2 separate regions of the Homo sapiens genome follow, and region 2 is linked to region 1. Evidence: promoter capture Hi-C in 16 types of primary human blood cells and fetal thymus (Javierre and others, 2016). All regions are on one chromosome and are shown on one strand. Each heading gives the region's core, a stretch centred on a gene start or on the middle of the fragment in contact. The rest is flanking DNA. Distances are from core to core; before and after follow the strand shown. Region 1 holds the start of FDXACB1 (ferredoxin-fold anticodon binding domain containing 1). Region 2 overlaps FDX1 (ferredoxin 1).

Region 1 (3,724 bases), core at 1,054-3,553:
TCGCTTAAAATGAGCCCCCCCAGGGCTGCCATGGCAACCACTTGCCAACTGTTGTGCCATTCTCTCTGGGGCTTATCCGCAGGAGTTCCACCTTGTCCTCTACATAATGCCACGTGGACTTCTCCTTCCTCTGCAAGAACGTCTGCACAGCTAATAGGGAGAAAAGAAACACTAACTAATTATCATAAACAAGCAGAAATTACCACAGGAGTTGGCAACATACACATGGTTTGCCTGTGAAATAATTAAAATCCAATCATACCTATGTGCAAAAATCTATTAGACCTCAAAAAATGCAAAGAAAGTAGCTGGAAGTAAATAGAAGCATAAATTAAATGTTCAACCCACTCACTGATAAGATTGGCTGACCAGGGTCTGCTTTGCATTTGTGTCATTCATGCATATGTCACAGAAAGATCAATATCTGCACAGTTCCTATATATGATTCATTGCTTAGGCTGTTTCTTCCCATTTAGAAAGTTCTTTTCACTGCCCTCCTGAAATTCAAATACTAGTTTAAAATACCACCTCTGTCAAAACTTTATTGACAGCTATGCCCCATCGGACACCTCCAATAGTATCATGTCTTGTGGTATAATCATGTAAAGCACTGTTTTCAGTTCACAATAATTTTATGAGGCTGTTAGTTACTTTTTTTTTTTTTTTTTTTTTTGAGATGGAGTCTTGCTCTGTCGCCCAGGCTGGAGTGCAGTGGCACGATCTCAGCTCACTGCAACCTCCACCTCCCAAGTTCAAGCGATTCTCCTGCCTCAGCCTCCCAAGTACCTGGGACTACAGGCACGTGCCAGCACGGCCAGCTAATTTTTATATTTTTAGTAGAGGCGGGGTTTTGCCACTTTGGCCAGGCTGGTCTCAAACTCCTGACCTCAGGTGATCTGCTCACCTCGGCCTCCCAAACTGCTGGGATTACAGGCATGAGCCACCACGCCTGGCCCAGTTAGTTACTATTAATATCCCTAGTTTACAGTTGAGGAAACGGAAGCATGTAAAGATTAAGTAAGCTTGCTTAAAATAACAACTGTTGGCCGGGCGTGGTGGCTCATGCCTGTAATCCCAGCACTTTAGGAGGCCAAGGCAGGCGGATCACAAGGTCAGGAGATCGACACCATCCTGGCTAACACGGTGAAACCCCATCTCTACTAAAAATACAAAAAATTAGCTGGGCGTGGTGGCGGGCGCCTGTACTCCCAGCTACTTGGGAGGCTGAGGCAGGAGAATGGCGTGAACCCAGTAGGCGGAGCTTGCAGTGAGCCGAGATTGCACCACACCACTGCACTCCAGCCTGGGCGACAGGGCGAGACTCTGTCTCAAAAAATAAAAATAAATAAAAATAAAAAAATAACAACTGTTAAGTGGTGGGCTGGGATTTGAATCCAGGCAGTCTGGCTTCTAAGTGCACGTTCTTAGCCATTAGACTATATGGCTCTCATTATTTTGCACTGTCAAAAATAAATGATCCTCTTTTACACACCCAAGAGTACATTATTTGTACTTTCATTTAGCATTTAGGGTTTATATATCTGTCTTTCCAACTAAACTTGGGGTTCCTTTGGGGCTTTATAGTCTCTTCTAAACATATCATAGTAGCTTGCACGTGTGCCTTATGTTTGGGTACAGTAACTATGTTATGGACATCTTAAACATTTTCCTTGTGAGGGCGCTCCTTTCCTCACCTTTGGAAAAATTTGGCAAGCAGTTCCCTGTTCTTAGCTACGCCAGCTTTGCGTCCACAATGCGGGAAGATGAAATAAATTTGATCAAATTCTCTCTCGTGCAGTTCAAAGACATCTGCCAGCTGGGTGCAGTCCACACCGAAACGTACATCGATACCTGGCAAAGATAGTTTGGGGGCGCAAAATATAGACAGGAGGATGCCTCAAGACATGGAACAGAAAAACTCTTCCTAACTTAAACCGTGCAGACCAGCCCAAGTCTGGGCACAAAGCCGGCTTTATGTGAATATCCGTGGGACGATCAAGAACAATCTCCACGTGGGTTACATCCCCACGCCCCCACCCTTTCCACTTTGGGACGCGCCGGCCGCTGGGCGGGGTTTCGCAGAGGGGCGGGCTCGCTACCTCGCTCGCGCAGGCACTGCAGATTCTCCCAGGCCAGTGGATCCCGAGCCAACTCGGCCGGGCGCTGGAGGCAGGTGGCGGTAAGTTGAGTGCTCTGATCCAGGGTTTCGCTCAGAGCGGCGGCGAAGGAGAAATTCCCCTCCCCAACCAACAGGAGGCGCCGAGGGGCCATGGCCTCCACGGACTCCCGGCTCGCGTTCTCTGTGGCGCTCGTTTTACGTCACTTCCTTCACGGATCTCTCTCCGCCCCGTCTTCTCCCGTCACTAGTTGATGACGCACCCATGGCGCCTGGTTGTCTAGACGAGCCGGTGTACCGACTCCCCGGTGGATGATAACTATGAGTGCAAAAGCAAGACGCGCACTTTCCTGTCACCTCGCCCTTTCACCCCCTCGGGAAGATCAAAGTGTCTTTAGCCCAAGCATGGCCTTGAGCGACTTCATCACACCTGCATGAGGTCACAAGCAGTCACTAGCGCAGGGGGGTGAGGCGAGTTCTGGGTGAAAGAAACGGGGCGGGGCTGAGGCCAAGGAAGAGGTTGGACTGTGTCTCGCATGCTCCTGACGCAGAAGGTTTTGAACCTTTTTTCACCTCGTCTGAAATGGCTGCCTCCCAGTGTCTCTGCTGCTCAAAATTTCTCTTCCAGGTGCTTAAATCTCCTATCTTCTATTCGTTCAAGAAAGAGTATTGAGTGTCTATTGCGTGCCAGGCCACTGTGAGGGTGGTTACGATATGTGGATGAACAAAATGTGGCCTATGATTTCAATGAGCCTGCAGTCTGGTGGGGAATGCACAGAGCAAAACAGGCAACTCTGATATGGCAGGGTGTGTGCTCTGGGAGCACACAGAAGAACGTTACCAAGTTTGGGGGCGAAGAGGGTCAGAGAGTCCTTGGATGAAGTAAACCCGAGTTGAAAGCTAACAGGGTAAAAGTGCATCTTAACTGAGTCAAGAGGCGTGAAGAGGCAGAAGGAACAATATATGCAAAAGCTTGATGGAGAAACAGAATAGTTGAGTTTGGCTGAAACACAATTGGAGGGAGAGTAACAGATGAGACTGAAGAGTTAGGCAGGGGCCAGGTCATAGGGAGCGTTGTAAGCCTTTAAAAAAAATCAACTTTTATTTTACAAATGGGGGTACAGGTACAGGTTTGTTACGTGGATATATTGCACCCAGGTAGGTTGCAGGTTTGCTACATGGGTATATTGCACCTAATAGTTTTTCAACCCACACCACCCGCCCTCCCCACTCTAGTTAGTAGCCTGGAGTGTGTGTTGTTTCCATGTTTAGGTCCATGTTTGCTCAATGTTTAGCTCCCACTTATAAGTGAGAATGTCAGAGGTATTTATACCAGAGCAACTCCGTCTTGAATAGGGGCTAGGTAAATAAGGCTAAGACCTGGGCTGCATTCCCAGTAAGTTAAGGCATTCTTAGTCACAGGATGAGATAGCTCAGCACAAGATACAGGTCATAAAGACCTTGCTGATAAAACGGGTTGCAGTAAAGAAGCCAGCTAAAATCCACCAAAACCGAGATGGTGATGAGAGTGATCTCTGGTCATCCTCATTGCTACACTCCCACCAGCGCCATGACAGTTTACAAATGCCATGGCAAAGTCAGGAAGTT
Region 2 (4,359 bases), core at 1,860-4,359, 1.4 Mb before region 1:
TCTCGACAGCTCTTTGACCGCATGATGTAGGGTAGCAGGAATCGAGAACTAGAGGGAGAGTGTGTTGGATTTGTACGCTGCTTTGTCTAGTTTCTTTTTGAGGTCTCTGAGAGCAGGGTCTAAGACTTTCAGTCATCTTTTCCCCACTAATCCCGTTATCTAGTGGGTGCTCCATACATTTTTGTTGTGTGAACTTTGGGGGAAATCAGGGAGAAGGCAAGCCAGATTTATTTGTTCCTGTTTCCTCTGCACTTCCCCCCCTGTCTTTGACCAGTGTGGGTACCTTGCTTTCTGTTATACAATGGATGAGTTTTGGACAACTGAATCAATTGGGACAGATATTGAACATGCTTGTGTAACTGGTATAAGGGAACATGAATGTTTTTGTAGTAATTGGGAGTTATCTTTCTCAGATTTGTTTTTTGGATTTGGATATGTCAGGTTGTTTTAAAGGGGAGCACGTCTATTTCCTCATAATCCTGCTGCCCTCTTTATTGGCACAATTTCTATTCATGGTCTTATCATTCCTCTTACAGACTTTGGAGCTACAACTGGATTTTCCAGTTCTTACTGTGTTAATGAGACTTGTGCTGTAACTACCGTAACTACTAATCACATGTGGCTATTGAAGTTTAACATAATTAAAGGTAAATAAAATTAAAGATTCAATCTCGTAGTTACACTAGCCACATTTCGAGTTCTCAGTAGCCACATGTGGCTAGTGGCTACTGTATTGGACATTGCAAGTATGTGTAGAACATCTTTGTTATGGCACAAAGTTCTTATAGACAGACAGAGCAGTTCTAGAAACTGTAGTTCTGTCTTTGAAGTTTAACAACTCGATAAGCTATCAGTAATTGAGAGTCAGAAAAACTCCTTTTACTCTAAAATACCGTGACACAAGGGGGTTTGCAGTGATTCAGGTAGCAAAGATCTTTCACGTGTATTGTTTCGTATGACTCTTAAGACAATTCTATGAGGTAGGGAGGGTAGATAAATGGGAATAAAAATTTCATATTAAGTAGCTGGCAAAACTAGGACTAGAACTCAAGAAGTTTTTGCGGATTTTAAAAAAATTTTAAATTTCTATTTATTTTTAAAATTTCAGTAGTTTTGGGGGCACAGGTGGTGTTTGGTTAATGGGTTAGTTCTTTAGTGGTGATTTTGGAGGTGTTGGTGTACTCTTCACCTGAGTGCAGTGGTGCCATCATGGCTCACTGCAGCCTACACCTCCCAGGTTCAAGCGATTCTCGTGCCTCAGCCACCCGAATATCTGGGATTACAGGCGCGTGCCACCACACTCGGCTAAGTTTTGTAGTTTTAGTAGAGATGAGATTTCACTATGTTGACCAGCCTGGTCTGGAACCCCTGGCCTCAAGTAATCTGCCTGCTTCAGCCTCCCAAAGTATTGGGATTACAGGCGTGAGTGACCACTCCCAGCATAGGGTCTACATCTTCTGACTCTTAGGTTCCATACTCTTTCAACTTAAGAATTACATTTTTCTTTCGTTTCCGCCTCCTCTCCTCTTCTTTGGTAAACCTGTTAATACTCTTACTTGGCAGTTTTTTGTAGGGCTGTTTACCTTTAATACAGACCAACAGGTTGGGCTTCTTAGCAAAAGGGCTTGGTCTTTAAATAACAGTTATTAATCAGTGTGTGTTGAATTCTACTATGTGTTACGTATTTTGCATACATTGTCAGAACTATAAGATTAATGTTGTCCAATTTTATAGAAGAGGAGGCTGATGTAAGAGATTTCGAATTCCTTTGCTGTAAGCTTAGCTCTAGAGTGCTTCAGAAGAACAGCAACGCTGAAACCTCTGGCTTTCAGTAGTGTGTATAAATGATGGAATTCTTTCTAATGTGCTTCCTGTAGCTTTAGCTACCAGGCATTCGTTGATGTCAAATCTCTAGACTTCTCTGCTGGGCTCAGACCCATACCCATATTGCCATCTGGTGTTTGGACATTCTCATCTGGCTTTTTCATTATTAAATTCAGCAGGTCTAAGCTTCAACTTATTTCTGTCTTCCCCAAAGTTCCTTTGGTTCCTGTCTTAAACCTAGGTTAAATGGTACCACCTAATTGTGTGAGCTGGAAATCCCAATGTTTTTCTTTCCGCTTTTCAGTTTATCTTATGTAGATGGTCACTAAAACCTTTTGGTCTACCTCCTGGATGTCTGTTAAGTCACTGCATTCTCTGTCCCTGATTAGTTTATGCTGTTTTGATAACCTCCAAAGTGGCCTCCCTGCCTCTAGGGTATTTTCATTCTCAGCCATTGTACTTTGAAAAAAATGGCAGTTATTCATGTTGAAAATTATGAATAATATGTGGGAATACTAGTTTTAAAGCATGTTTTGGCTGTGAAAAGAAGTTGGAGAGCGCAGGCCCTTTTGAGGAACATTCTGGTACACACACACACACCCTTTTGATGAGTTTTAATGAATAGAATCCTGTTTTTTTTCCCAGTGTTATAATATTAGGGAGGGCATTATCCCAGTGGGGCTTCAGTTGCCTCATTTGTGAAATGGGATCACTGGACTTGATAACTTTCGAGATAGTTATGGCTCTGAAATTATTTAATTCTGAGTTTTACTTAAAGATTTGTTTGATGGGCTATTGCCATCTACTGGTAGTAATAAGAATAACAACTCATTATTTTAAGTTGAAGAGAATCTTTTCAAGTGTGAGGTAAAAATTAAAATGACCAATGGTGGAGGAATAAGGATCTAGTTTTTAGTATAATGGCTTCTCAAATTTTGGAGGGATGTTTGTGAGAAGTGAAGGAAATTTAAGTCAGCTAGCTGATAGTTAACATACTATCTTAAAAAAACATGTAAGGAGGTATTTATCTTACAGATTCAAACAAATAAACTTTTTCTAGTCCCTTTGATTTGTAAGTATACAATGTGGACTGAAATGAGATGTCAAATACGCAGAAAACTACTAAACAACATCTCTCAGCAGTAGTATTCTATGTAGCACTGGAAAAGCAATCGCCCTATTGATTTTTTTTTTTTTTTTTTTGGAGACAGAGTTTCACTCTGCCACCCGGGCTGGAGTGCAGTGGTTTGATCTCGGCTCACTGCAACCTCTGCCTTCCGGGTTCAAGCGATTCTCCTGCCTCAGCCTCCCGAGTAGCTGGGATTACAGGCATGTACCACCATGCCTAATTTTTGTATTTTTAGTAGAGACGGGGTTTCGCCATGTTGGCCAGGCTGGTCTTGAACTTCTGACCTCAGGTAATCCGCCCGCCTTGGCCTCCCAAAGTGTTGGAATTACAGGCGTGAGTCACCATGCTCGGCCATGATTTGCTTTTTAGAAGCTCACTACAACCCTGGTCTAGTCTTTTATGGACACATTCATGTTTTTCAGAGAGCTGTGTGATGACTTTTTTTGTTTTTTTTTTTTTTTTTTTTTTTGAGACAGGGCCTTGAGCTGTTGCCCAGGTTAGAGTGCAATGGTGTAATCACGGCTCACTGCAGCCCTGAACTTCTGGGATCGGGTGATCCACCTCAGCCCCATGAGTAGCTGGTACTATGGGCAAATACCACCATGCCTTTTATTTTTCATACACCTACAACCATCTCATTTTTATTTTTATTTTTTGTAGCAATAGGGTCTCTCTGTGTTGCTCAGGCTGGTCTCAAACTCCTGGGCTCAAGCAGTCCCCTGCCTCGGCCTCCCAAAGTGCTAGGAGTACAGGTATGAGCCACCACACTTGGCCTTTTCTTTTTTAAATGACAGGGTCTTGCTGTGTTGCCCAGGCTGGAGTGCAGTGGTGCAATCATATCCCATTGCAGCCTCTTCCTCCTCCTGGGCTCAAGGGATCCTCCCGTTTCAGCCTCCCAATTAGCTGGGACTACAGATCACATCACCACACCTGGCTAATTATTTTATTTTTTGTAAAGATGGGATCTTGCCATGTTGCCCAGGCTGGTCTCAAACTTCTGGCGTCAAACAATCTTCCCACTTCAGCTTCTCGAAGTACTGGGGTTACAGGTGCAAGCTACTGCACTGGCTTGTATGAGAGTAAAATAGAGTTCATGAGTGATAATAATTGCCAAATGTTTTATAACTGTGACTATTAGGGAGACATATACTGAGGCCACCAGGTGGCGTTGACCAGGTAGTCATTGCCATTTCCTGTAAGGTAGTAGAGCTTATTACCTGGTAGGTGGGTAGATATATATGCCTTTGATTTCCAAATAAGCTTTGGAAAGAAAAGAAAATACCTTCGGCTAGGCATGGTGGCTCAGGCCTGTAATCTCAGAGTTTTAGGAGGCCAAGTTGAGAAGATGGCTTGAGGCCAGGAATTTGAGACCAGCTTGAGCAACATGGTGGCACCCCGTCACTACA

What was found. Contacts are between HindIII fragments. The CHiCAGO score rates a contact against its expected background, and 5 or more counts as called.
Region 2: a fragment that was not itself captured here is called in contact with the fragment with the promoter of FDXACB1 in region 1 in 3 of 17 cell types (naive B cells, naive CD8 T cells and total B cells); the score reaches 10.3 in naive B cells.

Annotation. Positions count from the first base shown.
Region 1 is chr11:111,876,862-111,880,585 of GRCh38, forward strand. It overlaps FDXACB1 (ferredoxin-fold anticodon binding domain containing 1), which reads right to left and starts at 2,304. Exons shown (of 5, transcript NM_138378.3): 1 at 2,100-2,304; 2 at 1,695-1,851; 3 at 1-150. The coding sequence starts at 2,271. CFAP68 (cilia and flagella associated protein 68) reads left to right here and starts at 2,680. Exons shown (of 4, transcript NM_022761.3): 1 at 2,680-2,744. The coding sequence starts at 2,700. RefSeq lists enhancers at 1,972-2,591, 2,088-2,557. The HindIII fragment of the contact is 2,066 bases long and covers 1,021-3,086 here.
Region 2 is chr11:110,431,327-110,435,685 of GRCh38, forward strand. All of the region lies in intron 1 of FDX1 (ferredoxin 1), which reads left to right. Among named protein-coding and RNA genes, the nearest start is that of FDX1, 3.6 kb to the left of the region's middle. The HindIII fragment of the contact is 2,203 bases long and covers 2,009-4,211 here.